Linked DNA regions of Homo sapiens: all the other regions are linked to region 1. The links are contacts of gene promoters, found by promoter capture Hi-C in blood cells and fetal thymus (Javierre and others, 2016). All regions are on one chromosome and are shown on one strand. The core of a region is centred on a gene start or on the middle of the fragment in contact, and the rest is flanking DNA. Distances in the headings are between cores, read along the strand shown.

The links. Contacts are between HindIII fragments. The CHiCAGO score rates a contact against its expected background, and 5 or more counts as called.
Region 2: a contact is called between a fragment that was not itself captured here and the fragment with the promoter of NDFIP2 in region 1, in 1 of 17 cell types (non-activated CD4 T cells). The highest score is 6.5, in non-activated CD4 T cells.
Region 3: a fragment that was not itself captured here is called in contact with the fragment with the promoter of NDFIP2 in region 1 in 1 of 17 cell types (total B cells); the score reaches 5.5 in total B cells.
Region 4: a fragment that was not itself captured here is called in contact with the fragment with the promoter of NDFIP2 in region 1 in 1 of 17 cell types (naive B cells); the score reaches 5.2 in naive B cells.

What each region holds. Positions count from the first base shown.
Region 1 is chr13:79,478,528-79,483,685 of GRCh38, forward strand. NDFIP2 (Nedd4 family interacting protein 2) reads left to right here and starts at 2,628. Exons shown (of 8, transcript NM_019080.3): 1 at 2,628-2,997. The coding sequence starts at 2,677. NDFIP2-AS1 (NDFIP2 antisense RNA 1) reads right to left here and starts at 2,704. Exons shown (of 3, transcript NR_046685.1): 1 at 2,625-2,704; 2 at 1,309-1,403. The HindIII fragment of the contact is 10,753 bases long and covers 1-5,158 here.
Region 2 is chr13:77,716,733-77,721,890 of GRCh38, forward strand. It overlaps SLAIN1 (SLAIN motif family member 1), which reads left to right. Exons shown (of 7, transcript NM_001242868.2): 2 at 2,800-2,939. Among named protein-coding and RNA genes, the nearest start is that of MIR3665, 21 kb to the left of the region's middle. The HindIII fragment of the contact is 171 bases long and covers 1,945-2,115 here.
Region 3 is chr13:78,119,378-78,124,535 of GRCh38, forward strand. All of the region lies in intron 1 of OBI1-AS1 (OBI1 antisense RNA 1), which reads left to right. Among named protein-coding and RNA genes, the nearest start is that of OBI1-AS1, 67 kb to the left of the region's middle. The HindIII fragment of the contact is 165 bases long and covers 2,111-2,275 here.
Region 4 is chr13:78,142,209-78,147,366 of GRCh38, forward strand. The region is part of intron 1 of OBI1-AS1 (OBI1 antisense RNA 1); the gene reads left to right. Among named protein-coding and RNA genes, the nearest start is that of OBI1-AS1, 90 kb to the left of the region's middle. The HindIII fragment of the contact is 228 bases long and covers 2,840-3,067 here.

The DNA.
Region 1 (5,158 bases), core at 1,378-3,877:
TGTCGCCATAATACCAGGGATTGAAAATATTATTGGATGTTGCTTAAGGTCTGTAAAATGGTAAAGAATATTGTTATTCCCACTGCATCTCAAGTAAGTTTCTCCTAGTGGGACAACTCAGTGCCTCTGCTTGTAATGGTCCATTACAGGTCACATGGGCTTAGTTGTAAAGTGGGCAAAAGAAGCTCAGAATGGCTCTTTTGGGGATGATGAATAAGAATTATTATTTTACATAGATCAAGAAGGTGGGATTTAAAGAAGTCAGATTGGCTCTTTGTGATACATTGCTATCTTTTTATGTCTTCTGCACGTTTCACAGTAGTGGTGGCTAGGAAGAGGAAAGAGACAAGGACTCTTCTTTATTAGGTGCATTATGCTTAATATAGTGCTTAATATGGTGGAGGCTCTGATGTCTGTCATCACCTACTAGTGATTTGGCATTAGCCAAGTTCATGAAACTCCTTGTGCCTTATTTTCCCCCCTCATCTGTTAACCAAGGAGTGCAACTGTGCCTATATCATGAAGTTCTGGTGAGGCTAAAATAATAGATGTATAGTACTGGCTTAGAAAGGGCTCTATACTAGTAAGCTGTTGTTCTACTTCTCCTTCCCCTCTTTCTCTTCCTCATTACAAATACGCTTTCCTGCTGAATTTGTTACTCCACTAGATTAGCAAAATGTTCAGAGAATCTGGGAGGAGGGTAAAATAGAAAGAATCTGTTACTCTATCAGGATTCAAGATGTCTGCTTTTGGTCAGATCTTTGATTTTTACTTTTATGTTCTCAGTGCTGCATTGGGTGTAAGAAATGGTCTCTGCCCTGAGCAGCCATCTATTTGAGAAACAGATGAACACATGAATGATTAATGAAAACACATATGCATATAAAATTAAGTTCTAAATAAATCTTATAGATCGTAAGTGATATAAGGATCTAATTTCAGTTTGCTGATACTGGCTGTTGTTTTGGTCATCGAGAGGCAATACCATTTGGAGTGAAATTGTGAGAGTGAGCGTTTGTACCAGTAATACCAATAAAATGGCATATGTTTATTGGCTTAGAAACTAAAATACATTAAGATCAAAACAAGGCAAGTTTAACAATATTTAAGTATGAGATATCACTGCCTCTTATTGTTAGCACAGTAATGCTTTATGCTATTAGACATGTCAAAACGGCACAAATAGGAAGAGTTGATGAATGCTTTAAAAAGAACTATGAGGAAGGCTTACATTTTTTAGTTGTCAATCTCTCAAAGAGTTTCTGTTTTTATTCTATCTTGCTATTTTAACCAGTTGATTAGGCTCACCCAGTGGCAGTCTTCATTTCAAGGATCTCCTCTGGACATTCATGAAGGAAATAAATGGGGCTCCAGATCCCTTTCCTTCCCTTCAGGGCGCTCCACTGTAAGATCATTTAGGGAAAATGTGGTGTTATGTTAAAAACATAGCTGGGCCACATCAAGCAGCATCATAGTTTTTAGGGTATAGAACGTTGGTCTTCAGGTTAAAAGGTACTTTTCGCTGCTCTGTCATACTCTTCTACTTGCTAGAGAAATATGCTTTATGCCGTGTCATGTGTGGTTAACCAGACAGTGAGATACTACTAACAGTGCTCCCAAGTGATTCCTTGCTGTTAAATCAATTGGAATTATTGAGTATTACCACAAAATAATCCTATCTGATTTCATTACTTTCTTCTAACGTCCTTCCAGTAACCTAGAACTCTAGAGACCTCTTTCTTTGAGAGTTGTCTGGAGAGTCCGTTGGATTTTTAAATCTCTTATTACCAAAAAGTGGAAAAAAGAGTTTAAAAAGTAACCAAAGAGCTAGTGCCTGTAGTCTCAGCTACTCCAGAGGCTGAGGCAGGTGGATAGCTTGGGCCGAGGAGTTCGAGGCTACAGTGAGCCATGACTGCGCCTGCTAACAGCCACTGCACTCCAGTCTGGGCAATATAGTGAGACCCCATCTCTAAAAAAACAACAAACAAAAACAAAAATTACCCCACAGAAGAATTTCAGGGCAGTGGAAATACTCTGTAGGATACTATAATGATGGATACCTGCCATTACACATTTGTTCTAACTCGAGGAGTATACAACAACCTGAGTGAACCCTGAGGTAACTATGGACTTTGAGTGATGATGAGGTGTCAATGCAGGTTCATCAGTCGTAACACATGTACCACTCTGAGGGGGGATGTTGATAATGGTGGGGGGTTATGCATGCGTAGGAGCCAAGTGTATATGGGATATCTCTGTAACTTCTCAATTTTTCTGTAAACTCTAACTACTCTATATTAGTCTTTAAAAAATCGCTTATCTTACGAATGATTTTGAATAAGCGTTTTGGGAATGTTCTAGAGATGAATCTCCTCCCCATGTCCTACGCTGGGTGAGGAAGTGTCGGGTACCCGGGCGACCTGTCCTCAGGTGTTCTAGGAACGCGGCCCCATCCCTTGTCAGCCTCTGTCTCTGTGTGGTGAGAAGGCGCACTGGCTCGTGCCTGCGCGAAACTCGCGCACACAGAAAAGACCAATCAAGGACGGGTCATTCCCGCCCCCCGCGCGCCTTTTGCGACCGCCCACTCGACAGGTTGACAACCTAGACAGCTCCCCCGGACTTGCCTTACTTTTCCATCTCCTCCCACCCAGCTATACCCTCCCACTGGCGGCGCGGATGGCACGCCGGCGGAGCCAGCGAGTCTGCGCGAGCGGTCCGAGCATGCTCAATAGCGCGCGCGGCGCCCCGGAGCTTCTCCGCGGAACCGCGACCAACGCGGAGGTCTCGGCGGCCGCTGCGGGAGCCACAGGAAGTGAAGAGCTTCCGCCGGGAGACCGCGGCTGCAGGAACGGAGGCGGAAGGGGCCCTGCGGCGACGACGTCGTCGACGGGGGTGGCCGTGGGAGCTGAGCACGGAGAAGACTCCCTCTCTCGGAAGCCGGATCCCGAGCCGGGCAGGATGGATCACCACCAGCCGGGGACTGGGCGCTACCAGGTGGTGAGTTCCCGGCCTCCTGTGCCTCCCGGGACTGCCTCCCGCCGCGGCGTCCCGAGAGTCCCTTTCCTCAGGTTATTCCCGGAGGAAAAGCTGTGGCTTTTTTTTGTTGTGTTTTGTTTTGTTTTTTTGGATCTTCTGGCTGGAGCTGCTTCACTCGCCTCACCTGCGCACTCCTGCCTAGGACTCCTTCGAAACCCTTCTCTCTCGCCCCAAGTCTGCTTAGCTCCTCACCCGCACCCTTAGCCCCGCTGTGAGACGCCCTCCCTCCACACACCTTACAACTTGTATCCGTTTTAATTTCTCACTTTATCATTTTCTTATTCTCTGACTCAGTCACTCCTGAGACATTCTAGTCGATTGTCTACTGGAAATGGGGCTGACTTCACATACCTGCCCGGAAGGTGATCGCCGTCATAAATGGGGTGGGTGAGTAGGTGGGTGGAGGTGTAAGTACTGCGTGGGGTGGGATGTGGATTTGGCAAAAATGTGGGTTAGGAATTGTGGAACTGTAGAGAAAGACTAGCCATAATGCTGATCTTGTCTCTCTGCTCGTTAACCTTGTCATTTTGTCCTTTTCCATTATGTTAGTATTAAAAATGACTGTATTTTTTGGTAATCCCCACTTTTTCTTTCTTTCTTTCTTTCTTTTTTTTTTTTTTTTTTTTTTTTTTGGTTAGAGGGGAAACAGAGGTAGTTTTAGTAGAACAAATTCTAATCTTGTTTGAAAAATTATTTTTCGTTAAATACAAGGTTTTCCAGCTTAACTGTGTAAACTTTGGTAACTATGTTGAAAAAAGTGAAATGTGTTCCTCTATATTTTCAGTGTCAATTTTTAAATATATTTTTCTTTGTGTATTCTGGTGGTGACGTTGGAGATTCCTGTTGTAAACCTTAGTTAAAGATGGACTGAGCAATAGTTGACTCTGCTGTTGTGCTGTTGCAGCTAGGTAGCATGTCATTCTACAAACTTTCAGCCCATTTACTGAGGGAGAGGAGAAAAACAATACATAGCACTGGTGATGCAGTTTATGGTTTATAAAATTTTACAAATTTAGGTATGTTAGTCCCAGGTTTCAACTTTCAAATCTATTTGCACATGTAAGACAGGTTATAAGCCAAGACTTTCTATTAATAAGTACATTTTGGCAAATATGAAGGAACTGTAAGATGAGATCCTAAAGTATGTAATTTTGCATTTTTCTAAGATAAAAGCTCATGAGGCTTCCATTTTCAATTGGTTTGCATTCCTTAAAACCTACAAAAGGTCCATATTCCGAATTCTTTGAAAATTTATCAGCTTTTCTCAACAACTTGGGAAATACTGTTTCTCCCAGTATGGAAAGCGTTTTTCAAGTTGTCAGTGTACACCCTTTTGATGGTTTGAAAGGCATTTCTAGGTTTGTAAATGTTAGCAAAAATAAAATGATATAAATATTGAATAATATCAGCAGTGAAACTTGTTTCATTTTTCCTACAGACGTCACTACCCAAAACACTGTTAATTTATGTAGCTCTCAGTTTTAAGATATTTGTTTTCCCAACAACTCCTTTCAAAATAAATGGGCATATTTTATTGCTGCCCCCTCCCCTCGTTTTTTTCAAACTGACGATGTGTCCTACATAGACTTTGAATGTTCCTTGAGAACAGAGGGCAAAAATCAGTTCTTCTAAAGATAAAGCCTACCAGTCCCTCTAAAGGTAGTACTTTAGGTAGGACATCGATCTGTTCTCCTTGTAAGGCAACTTACAACTAACATTGTAAGGCAATGTTAGTGTTAGAGTTACACAATTTACGTAGTCATTTAACCTATCTAGTATAACTCTTGGTTTTGTTTATAATGGCCTGATTAATAACATCAGTGTATGCCAGAGAAAAAGCTGAATTGACATTTTCAATAGACTTTTTAAACTAGGGATCAGTCTTCAGCTCTGGCTTATATGATGAACACAACTATTTTGTGGTTGCCTTTAGCTCAGTTTTTGGGAAAACTGGAATGCTTAATAAACTGGAGCAATAAACCACTTGAGTTGTTGAATGTTAAGGGATGACTAAGTCAGGAGATAGGCAAGTATACTTAGGGGTGAGATGGTATGCAATGTTAATTTTTCACTTACTTAAAGAGTTTAAAAACAGCTTTTCATACTGGAAAGCTAGCAGTGA
Region 2 (5,158 bases), core at 780-3,279, 1.8 Mb before region 1:
ATCTTGCTACTAAACTCACTTATGCTATTATCATTTTTGTAGATTCTTCAGATTTTTTTTACATAGATGATCATGTCATCTGTGAATAAAGACAGATTTACTTGTTTCTTTCCAATGTAAATGTTTTTAATGTAATGCCTGATTGCATTGGCTAGGATCTTCAGCAGAGTGTTAAATAGAAGCGATGAGAGCCAATGTCTGTGTCTGTTTGATATCACAGGCAAAGCATTCAGCCTTTTACCATTAACTATGCTGTTTTTGTAGATGCCTTCAATCAGGTTGAGGATGTTTCTTTCTGTTTCCGATTTGATGAGAATTTTTATCAGGAGTGGATGTCAAATGCCTTTTTTTTCTATTGATATTATATACTTTTTCTATTTTAGTTAATCTGATAAGTTATATTGATGTTTGAATTTGTACCAACTTTTTATTTCTGATATAAACCCCACTTATTAATGGTGAAATATGCTAATGGTGAAGTTAGACTCAATTTACTGAAATATTTAGACTTTTTACATCTGTGTTCATGTGTGATATTGGCCGTTAGTTTCTTAATTTGTAATGTCTGATTTTGGTGTCAAGGTAACACTGCCCTAATAGGATGTATTAGGATGTATTCCCTCCTCTTCTGTTTTTCGGAAGAGTTTGTGAAGAACTGATGTTTTCTTTAAATACTTGGTAGAGTTTAGCAGTAAAGTCTTCTGGGCCCAGGTTTTTCTTTGTGGGTAGTTTTTTATTTTTTATTTTTTGATTACTTTTCTGGCTATTTACTTTTAACTTATTTGTTTGCCCATGTTTAAGGTGCGTTTCCTGTAGGAAGCATATAATTGAGTCTTTTGTGACACTTCCACCTCCCTTTAAGGAAAAACTTGTCCGCAAGCTTATCAGATGATTTTCTCTCAGTTTCTGTTGGCTAGGATTGTGTCTGGGGCGTGGGCCTAAACCAGTCAGGCAAAGGGGAACAATGAAAATACCATGATTGGCTTAGCTGAGTGCCTCTCAAGATGTGGTCTCCAGACCGGTAATATTAGCATCACCTGGAAGCTGCTTAGAAATCCAGATTCTTTGACCCTATGCATCAAACTTTTAAGGGGTGTGGTTTAGCAATTTGTCTTAACAAGATGTTTAAGTAATTTTGAGGCATGAGACATTGAGAATAACTAGCCTGGACTAACCTATACTTGTGAGTAGGGAGAAGTACCGTGTACTGGGCAGTTTAGGCTATGTTGCAAGGAAGTGGAAGGGATTATTACCTACATAGGTAGGTGATAATCTTGCCATAGTAGGACTGAGCTGGGGCCCAAGAATATGATTTTTAACTATATATACTCTTGATGGAGTCACAACTGTGCAACACACTCTAAGGAAAAAAAAAAATATATTGGACTTACAATTAAATCCATTGAGATCTATATTTTAGAGTCCTTACCTGTAACTGGAGTGAACAAACTGTCTCAAGGGCAAATCAGAGCCGTTGCATGTTTTGTATGGTGGGTAAGATACGGTTTTATGTTTTTAAATGATGAAAAAAAATACAAAGAATGTGAAAACTATGGGAAATTCAACTTTCAATGTCTATAAATCAATTTTAAAGGAACACAGCCACGTTTATTCGCTTACATATTGTCTAGGATGCCTTTGGACTGGAATGGCAGGGCTGAGTAGTTGTGACAGAGATCATGTGGCTTACAAAGCCTGAAATATTTACTTGCCGGTCCTTTACAGAAAACATTTGGCAATCCCTGATCTGTAAGAATAATTTACTGAAGAATAGTACATTCCCCAACCATCTTGTATAACTGATAAATTACTCTAATAGGTGAACGTTTTGTCTAGAACAGTGAAAGTATGAATAATGAAGTATGTTATTTCAAGAATATGTGCTTATTAGAATTGTGGTAGCTTTGTTGGAAAGAAGATTACTTTAGATTTGTAATTAATGTAAGCTTATAGTAGTAAGGTGTCACGTATTAGAGCCAGCAGTTTTGGGGAGGTAATTCACCCTCCCCCCTTTTTTAGTTAACTGCTGTTTATTCCTCAAGATAAACCTTTCTGTATAGCCCTATCACTGAAAATATTCTAAAATCTACCTTAACATGGCATATTAATGAGAGAAGCTTTTTTATAACTTGCAGTGCCTCCGGGTAGTCATTTTGAATACTATCCATTACTGTGTAATTGTGTAGGTGCTGAAAGTGAAGTCTTCGTAAAACATATCTTTTAAAGCTCTTTGTTTGGCTTTAATGAAAAAGAAACATATACCAAGGTTAGTATAGATTTGAGACAGGAGAAATATGTGATTATGTAAGGGTTCAAAGAATCAAGTGACTGGCTTTTACGGGTGTTTAGACTTATTTTTAAAAAATACACATAAGATTTGCCTTGTTTGTCACATCATGTTTACCTTCATTAGCCCAAGTTTACAAAAGATTCTGTTGCCAAAGAGAAAGATGAAAATGTTCATTTCTTGACATGTCAATAGAGATAGTAAGATCATGATAGTGCCTTTTTAGGGCTAGTTTAGTTAAAAAAAAAAAAAAAGCCCTTGATCTCTGATGCTGAAACACACAGTTAGGGGGAAAATTGTTAGACCTTTTTTTGGAAGTTCTCACCAGGCTACAGGAAGTGTCATATTCTATTTGGGGATATTTGCCTGTTAAAAACTATTTCTGATACTTTGAAGTCATCAAATATGAGTTCTGTTTCTATGGAAATTGTTAAATACATGTTGCTTTCCCCAGAGAGAGGTACTCTCTGTATACCTATATCATACCTATAATGTAGATTTCTTTTTTTAAGGTTATACATTGGCTCTTCAAAGACGTTCACCTCATCAGAGAAATCCCTGACTCCTTTGCAGTGGTGTAGACATGTCCTAGATAACCCAACTCCTGAGATGGAAGCAGCGAGACGTTCCCTGTGCTTTAGACTGGAGCAAGGTAATTGTGAGTGTGTGCATTTACATTCTCCAACTCTTGTCACTCTCAGTGCTGCTTTTGTTGCTGGTTTTGGAATAAACATTTCAATTGAAAATTCTTACCCTGAGGTGCAGCTGTTGCATGCAATTTGCTTCACATGTATTACACATCAAGCTTTCTCAATGTAAGATGTGTTTAGTTTTGTGCTTGATTTTAGCCATATTTTTAGTTTGCTTTAGTTCATATTGCAATGTAGGAACACACAAATTTATTTCTTTTTTTTTTCTGTTTGCAAATATACCAGTCAAAAAAATTGTCAGTTATCAGTGCTCTGGGGTCAGTAACAAGGTTGTGTGGCTGTTTTCTAAGGCAGAAAACAGGATTTCATGGGGATCTGAGTACTGACCTTACTGAGTGTCTTTAACATTTAGTTGGATGTATAACTGGAAGTGCTAACCTTTAAAAACTAAGAAATCTTCATATTGTCTGTAACATTAATTAACTTATGGAGCCTAACAGAAGTTTAAATTTAAAAAAAGGGCAGTTGGAAAAACAGCAAAAATGAATGAGTGGTACTCAGTTCCTTGCTATTTGATGCAGGGAACTACTTGAAGCTGTAATTATGTAGGCTTTTGGCTTGTCTCTTAACCTCTGGGCATCTGTTTGATCCTCTGGGAACACTGTTTCTATTCCATGGACCACCTGCATCCAAATCATACATGAGCTTCAAAGTACAGATTCCGGAGCCTCCAGATTAAAGAATGATACTGTTTGAGGGTAGAGTCAGGGGAGTCTGCATTGAGAAGTTCACCAGTGTGATTCTCATGTACACTGATATTTGAGAACGCTGCCCATGAAGCTCTTTGAGGATAATGAATAACATGTTTGGACATAAGACAAAGCATTATAGATAATGCTTCAAGAGCTCTTAATTCTATGACATTCATTACCTTTACATTCTTGACATCCTTCATCTTATTCAGTGTAACTGAACTCATCTTTAGAGGTGAGAAATACGAAGTTTAGAGAAGTTCCCAGGGTTACAAGGCAGAATGATACTCAGGGACAGAGTCAGAGCCAGGGTCTCTCTGAAACCAGAGTCTCCATACTTAATTAGTATTCTGTACTGCCGTATTGGCATGGTCATAAGTAAATATCAACAGAAATCTGTTAAATACTCGGAAGGTGGGATGAAAGAATGTATTTTATTAACATTTTAACTGAAATGAAACAGGTGACTTAATAATGGAAAGTTGAAGAGCAGTGTAGGGACAAAGGCATGTTAGGGTTAAAACTTTGGTGATAGATGCTCATCTAACAGAGCAGCCATCTCAGAGTCGGAGGCTGTAGTATTCATTCTGTTCCCATTTACCTAAGTGACTCGAAGAAAACTGATACGGTTTGGCTCTGTGTTCCCAGCCAAATCTCATCTCCATTTGTAATCCTCACATGTAGAGGGAGGCACCTGGTGGGAGGTGACTGGATCATGGGGGCGGTTTCCCCCATGCTGTTCTCATGATAGGGAGTTCTCATGAGAGCTGATGGTGTTAAGTGTGGCACTTCCTCGCTCTTTCACTTTCTCTCTCTCCTGCCACCATGTAAGGATGTGCCTTGCTTCCCCTTTACCTTCCACTATGATTGCAAGTTTTCTGAGGCCTCCCCAGCCATGGGGAACTGTGAATCAATTAAGCCTCCTTTCTTTATAAATTACCCAGTCTCAGGTAGTATCTTTGTAGCAGTGTGAGAACAGACTAATACACAAACCATTAAATCCCTTTGGATTAACTCTTTGAAGGGTTATATAGACCATTCCTAAGCCTCCTTACTTAATCCTTGACTCAGTGACTTATATCTACATTTTAACATACAAATTTGGCTCAATAATTTGAAGTAAAATTCAAATTGAATTCAGAATTAGTCCTTTATCTCAGGGGTCAACAAACTTTTTTTTGAAAGGAGATAGATAGTCAATATTTTAGATTTTGTGGGCTACATAATCTCTGTCATGACTGTTCAACTTAGCCATGCCCAGAAAACAATGATCAATGCAGAAATTAATGAATGAGGATGCATTCCAATATAACTTTATTTACAAGCCCTGACATTTGAATTTTGTGTGGTTTTTCACGTGTCACAAAATGTATATATTTTTCCCAATTATTAAAAAAATATGAAAACATTTCTTAGCTGGTGAATTATTACAAAAGCAGGAGTGGGCTGGATTTGGGGTACTCTCGGCC
Region 3 (5,158 bases), core at 943-3,442, 1.4 Mb before region 1:
TCTGCCTCTTCCTTTCTCTCTCTCCTTTCCCTACTCTCCCTCCTCTTCCATCACTATTACTACCATTCTTCTTCCTCTTCTCCTCCTTCTCTCCCTCTTCCTTCTCCTGTACTCTCCTCCCTCCTTGTCCTCCTCCTCTCTACCTTCTTCTCCTCCTCCTTTCTTCTTCTCATCTTTAATTCAAATATATTAGAAAGAGAGAATGTCAAAGAATGATGTATAAAGAGTTGAGTAAAAGTTTATTTGCGAATGTGTGTTGGGGCTAAGGAGCAAGACTTGGCAGGGAAGAAGGTGGTAAGAAGGCAGAATAGACACTGCTGACACTGCAGCAAGTCTTATAGTGGATGACTGTCAAGCCAATCCAAATATTTTAGACTCCAGCTGTATGAACAGATGTTCCCAAATTGGTGAACTGTTTACATTTAACAGAGGACATTTAATCTTTCAAGAGACTCTGATCTAAGGTTGTCTTCTTTTAAAAGTTAATATGTCTGTCATAAGACTTTATTCCTAGTAGCAAATATTTAAAGCAACACTTTTTAAAGAAAGTAGAAACTGGTATGATGGTGTGTGCTTGCAGTGCCGGCTACTCAGGAGCCTGATGAGGGAGGGTCACTTGAGCACAGGATTTTGAGTCTACCCTGGGTAACACAGTGATACCTCATCTCTTAAACAAACAGAAAAACAAAAAACGAAAGTAAGAAAGTTGTGGAAAATTGCAATTTAAAATTATAATTTCTTAGTAAACATATTAGAGACTGAAGTTATTTTGATAATATTTTTTTCCAAAATCATACATGATAGATGTGTCAGTCAGTTTCACACTGCTATAAAGAACTTCCTGAGACTGGGTAATTTAAAAAGAAAAGAAGTTTAATTGACTCACAGTTCCACATGGCTAGGGAGGCCTCAGGAAATTCACAATCATGGCAGAAGAGGAAGCAGGCACATCTTACATGGCAACAGGCAAGAGAGAGCCTGTGAAGGAGGAACTGTCAAACACTTATAAAACCATCAGATCTTGTCAGAACTCACTCACTATCGTGAGAACAACATAGGGGAAACCATCCCCATGGTTCAATCACCTCCCACCAGGTCCCTCCCTTGACATGTGGGGATTATGGGGATTACAATATGAGATGAGATTTGGGTGGGGACACAGAGCCAAACCATAGCAATAGGATATGGAGTTATATAGTAGACTTAATTTTTTAAAGTAAGTTTTTAAAATTCTGAATAATGCAGTGTAACTTTTTGTAACTCTAGCATAAAGATACCTCTGTATGTATTTATGCAACAAATTAGATAATCTCATAATTCACTGAGCGTAAAAGATGAACAATATGCCACATTCTAGATCGTCTATATAGCCACGGCTATATAGACAAAAGCAGATAGAAGGTTTAGAAAAACGTTTGGATCAAAATGCCAAAGACTTAACTAAGTACCATATTATATGAGAATCAAAGGAAGAGATAGTTTTGTGATCTGAATTATTTGGATTGATTGCACAAAGTGACAACCAGAAAAAAAGAACAGAAAAACAATAAAATTATTCTTAGATGAAAATTTTATTAGCTTCTCTTTCCTCTACTCTAGTGTAATATTTTCTTCATTTTACACACACTTTAAAATTCATCTAAGAAGAAAATATAAGATTTACATATAATTCAGATACTTTTTCTTATGAGCTAGAGAGGCCAAAGAAACAAACCAACAAACCAAAAAACAATCCCTTCCATTAAACCCCTGAGTAAAAGTCAGGAAGTTGATCATATGCGATGATGTGACACCTCTTAATCACGGAGAAAGGACATTGATGAATAATCAGCAGGATAGCAAAGGTGTAGTGCAGTCACTGATAGGACATCAGCAGTTACTCCTGGGAAAGTGTAAGAAATTTTAAGGAACAGCAGAAAAGAATGAAGGACTCAGCTCCCTAACAGAATCAGAGAATTCATAGGCTCAGATAAAGGTGACTCGTTTCTGTATTTCTATGTCAGAAATATACAGGAGCTCATCCCCCCAAAAGTGAAGCAGTCTATAGTCACAAATTTTATTTTGGAAAAATGAAACAAAACCAGAGAAAAACTTAGAGCATCTTTACACAAGCTTTTTTTTTTCAAGTGCTTTTTGTTATTCTAATGGATCCTATATTCAAAACATTCCAAGATAATCAGTGTCTCTCTGCAGGAAACCCTGCTGATTTTAGGGAAATGATTAATAATCGGTCACTTTCTCTGCCCCTTTCAGCTTCTCTTAAGTTTAGTGAGGAAGCTTAAAGAATTCTTACACCTCCCCCTGCTGGCAGCAAACAAGAAGTGCAGGTTTGGTACGTAAAACACGTTCACACTGAAAATAATGGCTAAGATCAACTTTTGATTCTAAAAACAAGATTCTTTCCATCTGTAATCCGTGAAAAAGTTTGAAACATGAATTTAAAACATGAAAAGTAATAATAAAGTTTTGGGAAGTACTGCTTTTCAGAAGTCAAACAATGAGTATTATGTTAAAATATTTAATTCAACAGCATTCCTTCAAAAATTTATATTTCTGAAATCTGACTCCAGAAATGACTTTGTTGTGACCTTTACGTCTTTTCAACTGTGTCTCTACTTGCTGCCATTCTCTCTATAGATCCCATTATTATCCGTCGCGGAGACAGGAGGTTCGTCAATCACTTAATCTGCTCCCCTGCACTTTCCAACTCCCTTGCTGTTCTTGCTTCTGGGCGGTACTGATGGGTCACTTACGGGTCCACACACGGAGGACCCAGCCCATGATCCCCATCTGCCTCTGCTGCGGCAGGTACTGCAGATGTTCCAGAGAGTGGAGTGTCCATCAACCTAGATGCTTGAGAGCCTATGTTGAGCAGGGGCCTCTGTGTGTTCCTCCCCTCATTGACCTACAGCTGAATTTGAGTGAGAACTACCTGTTAGGTGTTAAGCAATTGAGAGTTCATTTGTCCTGAAAATAACAACGTAGCTGATGACTTTAGAATGTAAACCAAAACATATCTGATACAAGTCTAAATCAATTTACAAAGTTTATTTTGCCAAGGTTAAGGAGGCACACCCCTGACACAGTTTCAGAAGGTCCTCACAACATGTGCCCAAGGGGTTCAGGGCACGGCTTGCTTTCATACATTTTAGGGAGACGTGAGACATCAATCTATATGTCTAAGATGTACGTTGGTTTGGTCTGGAAAGACAGGGCAACTCGAAGTGGGGCAGGGGCTTCCAGGTCATAGGTAAATAACAGACAAATGGTTACATTCTTGTAAGTTTCTGATTAGCCTGTCACTGAATATACGATTTACAGGAATAGTCACTTATGCCTTAGTCTGGCTTAGTGAAACAATAGGGCAAAGGAAGCAATCAGATATGCATTTGTCTCACGTGAGCAGAAAGATGACTGAGTTCTGTCTGTCCTTTATCCACAAGGAGTTTCTTTGCAGACAAAGTGGGAGAGAGGTATTTATCTTTTTAATCTTTGTAGCTGTTTTATTTAGGAGTAGAATGGGAGGCAGATTTGTCTGCAGTACTTAGCTTGACTTTTCCCTTTGTTAGTGATATGGGGGTTGCAAGATTTATTTTCCTTTCACAGGTATATTTGCACCTTTCACAAGAACATTAAGAACAATCCTGAGCATTCTTCATGTCTCGTTTGATCCTTACCACTGCCCTCTGCAGTACTTTATATAGATGTTATTAGCCACATTTTGTATGTGACAAAACTCTGGCAAAGGTAGATTAGATGCATTGTTCCAGGTCACACGGGCAAGAAGTGATGGAACCAGGAATCAACTCAGATTCCAAATTTCCTCAATTTTTATTTCGACTTTACATTGTCTCATAAAACAAAATTCACAATTATGTAAGATTAATTACATCAAGTTGAACATCATCACTTTGTTTAAAAAGTTATAGGGGCAAATACATTTAACACACAAAAAATTATTAAGTCTACTTTGTTGAAAGCACTACTGTAAGCATTGCAAGATATACAAACAAGTATGAGATGTAGTCCTTATCTTCACAGAAATTACACTCATGCTTGGAAGCCCAGTCAAAGAAACATGGAAAGCTCAAGAGCAATATAGAAAACTTTACAAATAGTCCCTGACTAGTTGTCAAGTTAGCTTTTCACACATTAGGTGATCAGTAAATGTTTGCTGGGGAGAAGGCAGAGGACAGATCACGAAAGAAGGGTGGAGAAGAATGGTGAAGAAGGTGAGTGATGGGATTATAGTGCAGCTTCCCATCCTATAAGAGAGTCAGGCAAGGCTCCATGGAGCAGGTGTGGTTTAGCATAAACTTAATGGATGGGTAGGGTTGTATTCAATTGTATTGAATGATGGGCAGGTTTTATCATTGCCACCAAATTATGAAGGGCCCTGTGATGGTTAATTTTATGTGTCAACTTGGTTGGGCCATGAAATGCCCAGATTATATGTGACTTTGGGGGTGTATCTGTGAGGGTGCTTGTGAGATTAACATTTGAATAAGTGGCCTCGGTAGGTTGCCACCCCCAATGTGGGTGGGAATCATCAACCCCTTAAGAGCCCGAATATAAGAAAAGGTGGAGAAAGGAAGAATTCATCCCTTTTGTTCTGCCTCACTACTTGAGTAGGACATCCCATCTCCTCTTCTACCCTTGAACCGGTATTTACACCATTCATTCTCAGACTAAAACTGAATTACACCATTGGCTTTCCTGGGTCCCCAGCTTGCAGAATGCAGATTGTGGCAATTCTTAGCCTCCATATGACATGAGCCAATGCCTCATAATAAATCTCCTTTTTATATACAGATAGATAGATGATAGATAGAGGGTAGATAAATATAGGGACATAAATATACACATAGATATAGGTATATATCTCTGATTTGTTTGGTTTCTCTGGAGAATCCTGACTAATGTAGTTCCTATTAAAGAATTTGCATTTATCTTATAGGCAGAAAGACATCCTTAATGTTTGTAGAATATTGCACTGTCAGTAAAATATCTTAGATAGTGCATAAAGGAGGTATAGGCAGAGACCAGCAAGAGAGATCATTAATATACACACAGTTATACATACTTACATTATGTTATCTATAACCATGTCTCTTTATGATGTCTACAGATATGACTTTTCAAATTTTGTCTGAATCAA
Region 4 (5,158 bases), core at 1,704-4,203, 1.3 Mb before region 1:
ACTGGTCTCGAACTCCTGACCTCATGATCCACCTGCCTTGGCCTCCCAAAGTGCTGGGGTTACAGGTGTGGGAGTTGAAGGAAGAAGGAAGCGGATAAGTGGGAGGAAAACTAAAGAAAACAGAGCAGAATAAAAAAATATATATAATGTCAGTTTTTATTCTGCTAAAATATAATCTAGATTATGTAGTTTGTGTTTCCATATTCAACAGCAGTGTTTCTGAATCATAGAAGTCTCATGTTTAGAAGAGTAAAACATTTTATTAAGATTTGGATTAGATGATAACTAACTTTGCTACCAGCTGTGTGATTCCAGTGTCAGATCTTAACAAAGGTAGAGAGTTTTTCTTACTTTTCATCTGATAATTATAAAATTAAAATAAATATCAAAATGTTTCCAGATATGTCAGAAAGCTGAAGGGTTTCATGAGCCTAGATGGTTTCTGTTATCCGCAAAAATAGATTTTTAATTAATCCATGGCCCAAGATGTTGGTTTAGTTGTGTTCTCCTTCATTTTAGTTCAGAATCTGGAGAGGATACAAAATTCAATAGATTTTTCTTTTTCCCCCCCCAGCATAGGAACTACAGAGTAAGGATAGCTCTGCAGGTATATGTAAAAGCTAATTCTATGAGGAGCCAAAGACAGGGTTTCAGAAAGTCCAGTTTAAGACACGAGAGAGAGATGAACGATGTGCCTCCAGAAGTATGCATAGTCCACAGAACAAATTATGTAGATCAGTTGAACTGGTGAGGAGATAAACACTTTTGGCTAGTTAAGACTTCATGGAAGACGTGGGATCTCCATAAGACTTGGAAGAACAAGTTGCTTTTAGAAAGTGTGGGAGAAGGTCCAGGTGCTGTGGCTCATGCCTATAATCCCAGCACTTTGGCAGGCCGAGGCAGGAGGATCACTTGAAATCAGGAGTTAGAGATCAGCCTGGCTAACATGGTGAAACCCCATCTCTACTAAAAATACAAAAATTAGCCGGGCGTGGTGGTGCGTGCCTGTAGCCCCAGCTACTTGAGAGGTGGAGGCTGCAGTGAGCTGAGATCGCACCACTGCACTCCAGCCTGGGTAACAGAGCAAGACCCTCTTTCAAAAAAAGAAAAGAAAAGTGAAAAAGTGTGAGAGAAGAAGCAAAGTACATATAAAAGGAAATATGATGAGAATAAAATTCCAGTTACACAACTGTAAGATGTTTCTGGGAAATAACAGTAGACCTATTTCATATGGATACACAGGGAGATAAAATTACAAAAATGAGGACAGATCTTTGATGCTGTGCTAAAGAATTTAGACTTGGTCTTGAAAGCAACAGGAAGATACCCTCAGGCCCTGAGCATAGGGATGACATGATTGAAGTACTATTTTAGAAGGTTTACCTAGGAATAAACATGAAGAGGTTGATATAGGGAGTTATTGGAGGCAGAATGACCAACTGAAAAGTTTTTTACAGCAGTCCAACTGTGTAACTAAAGGGCCTAAAATAGAGTAGGGAAAGTGGAAATATACGGAAAGAATAAAATGTGAAAGACAATTCAAAGCTGAAATTGGCAGGACAGGACTTCATGCCTAATTGGATTCAGATAACCAGGTAGGGAAGAGGTGAAAATGTATGAATGTTCTGAGTCTCTAAGACTGTGATAATAATGATAAAATTAGTCCAAACTGAGAGCAGGGATTGAGTCCCTAAGACTATGATAATAGTGATAAAATTAGTCCAAACTGAGAGAAGGGATACCTGTATTCCTGGGCTGTTGTGAGAATTAAATAAAAAAACATAAAAGCTGTTTTAAAATTTCTGAATTATATGAAGATATGGCCTGATTAGAGAAGAGAAAGTCTAAATAACAACCAATAGGGTAAGAATGAGATAAATTTTGTATGAGGAATCTTGGGTTTATGGTTATCCAAGTAGAGATGGTCAAAGTGCCATTCTCAATGATCACCATTGCCATAAACAGAGGAATCTATTAGGATAAAAAGAGACCAGCACAGAATCAGTTGTAGGTGTTACCAGAAACATGACCCACATGGCCACCTCCATTTGGTAGTGTTTAAGTAAGTAAAGAAGGTAGCAAGGCATCACACCAGGAGAAATAAAGGATATTTTTTGAGTGTGTATGCAATGTGCCAAGTGCTTTTACTCACACATTTTATTTTAACACACTCATTATGTTGGGTGGTAGAAGCCTCACTTTAGAGATGAGAAACATGGCAATCAGATTTTAACTATATCTCCATTAATAAACAGTGAAGCTGTTTTTCTGATTTCAAGACAAGTGTCTTTTAACTAGACCATCTATACTTTAGTCTTGGCATGGACACATACCAGGATGACTCAACTTGGGTGACATAACCCCTGTGAACCTTGGTTCCTACTGTAAGATGGGAAGGATCATATTTAACTTATGTAGTTGCTGTAAGGGTAAAATAATGTGAAAGAGTTGTGAAAATTGATAAGTACGGGACAATATAACATTATTATTAGTGTGTAGTGATAAGTTTAATTTAAACACATGATTGTACAACTCTGCTTGGAAGAAGTTGCTGTGAAACTATTAAAGTATGGCTGACATTCTCCAACCATCTGACTTAAAATTTCCAAAATTAATTTTCACTGGGCAATGCCTCTGAAATATATCTTTTCCTTGATTTATTTATATAGAACAACAGAATTATCTGTTCTAGTTAGATAAAAATTTCTAAGAATCATTTAAAATTTACTCTGAAATTCCTTACTCTCTAATCTTAAAAGTCCTTGAATATATTAGTTTAACGTAGCTCTTTCATTAGTACACCACTTCCATACTGAACTGATGACAATGCTTATTTTAAAGCTTTTGTAATGCTTAAAAACATGCCTAGATCTTCAAAATTATGGTCACCATTTTGTTCTGTAATATTGTGTTTGTCTTCTATGAAAACCTGCCACATTCAATAGCCATATGTATGTTAATGAAAGAATAATAATGACAACTAATAGAACACAAGATGTGTCAGTGTACGACTATCAGAGCAAAATCAAAACAAAACTGCATAAAGACATTATGAATCTGGATCTGAAGCTTCTTGGTTCTTAACTAGTTTTATGTTAATGAAACAATTATTAGAACACACAAAACCCTTCCTTTTTAATTTGATAAATTGAGTGGTGATGTGAGTTAATTGAACCATCGGTGTGATAATAAGATGCAACTGGTATGATTTATCAGAGGATGACATGGTTACAGGCATTGCTTCCACAGAAAATAATGGCTGTTATTACCACTTCCTGAGGTGAGCAGGCAAGCCATAAACCTAGCTTATTGCTACACAGGTCAGAGGATGAGGGGTCCATTTTGCCTTTTGTCTTAGTGGATCCTTTAAGGCTGTCTCTTAATAATTTGGAAAATATTTTTCCATATTCCACAAACAATATCAATACTGACTTTGTTTAGGCTATTCTATAATCTTAACCTATTTAGCTAAGTATTAAAGTGAAAAACCCCTAGATCTCCAAGAGCTTTGAGTTCTAATGTTAGTAATTAAGGGGTCACCTTGGGTCTTCTTTTTCAAGTTGCATTATCTTGTAGAGATATTTTCGCAAGTGGTTATTCTAGTGGAATAATCCTCCAGGGCTCTGCCGCTTGAGAAGTAAGTCCTGTGCTTTTTCATATATGATTCAGAGAGAATATTACATGCTACTCATCTTCTGGTGGAAGAGAAAGAAATAAGTGATCACAAAGCCCTTTGGTTTGCAAAGAAAACATTTGAATTTACAATGTTATATTTCTTTGTATCCCAATGACTTCAAAGTAAATAAAAAGTAAATCAATGTCACTGGATCCATGAAATATATGTATCTGGACATGGGATCTATTTCTGCCACATAGTGATATTAGGAAAAACACTTGCCATATGTTCATACTATGAAAAATTAATCCAAGATCTTGGAAAGAGCTTGTGCCTATGCTGAAAAGGTTATATCTTAAAATACTAATAAAATCTTCATTCTTCATTAATCTTTTATTCATTTATTGGATTTCTCATTTTTAACCTCCATTTGTACATTTTTCAAGCTTTTTTATACACACAGCCACATATGTTCATTTAATTCTTAAAACCATTCTGAAGTTGACATGTCATCATATAATTTATTATAGAAAATGAGGAGCTCTTGAAAAGAGGAAGGTCTTGTTAATTAATCCGAGACAACAAGTATAAGCCAGGACTTCTCTGAGATCAGAGAATACAGTCACTCTAGGTAAGAAATTCATCAAAATTTTAAAAATTCACCAAAGAAATACAGTGGGAAAGTGACAGAGCCAGAATTTGGTTCCATGCTTTTAGGACCTAACATTTTCTAACAGTCCTTCCCAACAGATTTTGGGATTTCCTGATTTACTAATTTGAAATGATTAGAGGGAGAGAAGTCAGGGATCCCGGCCTGCAAAAATATTAATGCAAAGTAGATACTATGTCTTATATATCTTCAGGTATTTAACTTGAAACCCACCTGGTCTTCAGTGAACATTTGTGCATCTCAACCAAATCATACCACTTGACACTTCACCATTTTGGATATATTCCTTTAGATGGTAAGGAGCTTTCTGTTTTCAAAAGTCAATGAATAGAAAAACAATATACCCCCCCACACACACATATATTTTATATATCTATATATCTATACTCATACACTCAGATCAGCCCTTCCTTCATTGTCTGTTAATCTTGGTTTGCAAAAATCTGCACATAAATTTTACGAAAAAATGATGACTGTCAGATATTTTCTAGGCTCAGAAGAGAACAGAATCACACTGTTTTGGGAGATAGGAAAAGGGCAACAGCTTTGGTCTATTTAACCATTCTTCAAATAGTTATTATGCCAGTTTTAACCTTGTCCATTTTCACACCTTTACTGGCTGCACAGACAATGCTAATTGGAAACATTTTGTTTGTAGGACCTTCTGGTCTAGGTGGAAATTTTAATTTGTTTAACCACACTTAATTATGAAATACATCATCTACAAATTTGTAGCTGCTAAGAGGAATGGCCTAATGAGAGGATATGGACCATATTAAGGAAAAGAAATCAGACATTGTAATCGTGATACGCTGAATAGAACCCTAGATCTACCATTAAATACCTATGTGACTTTAGTTGAGTAACTTCAT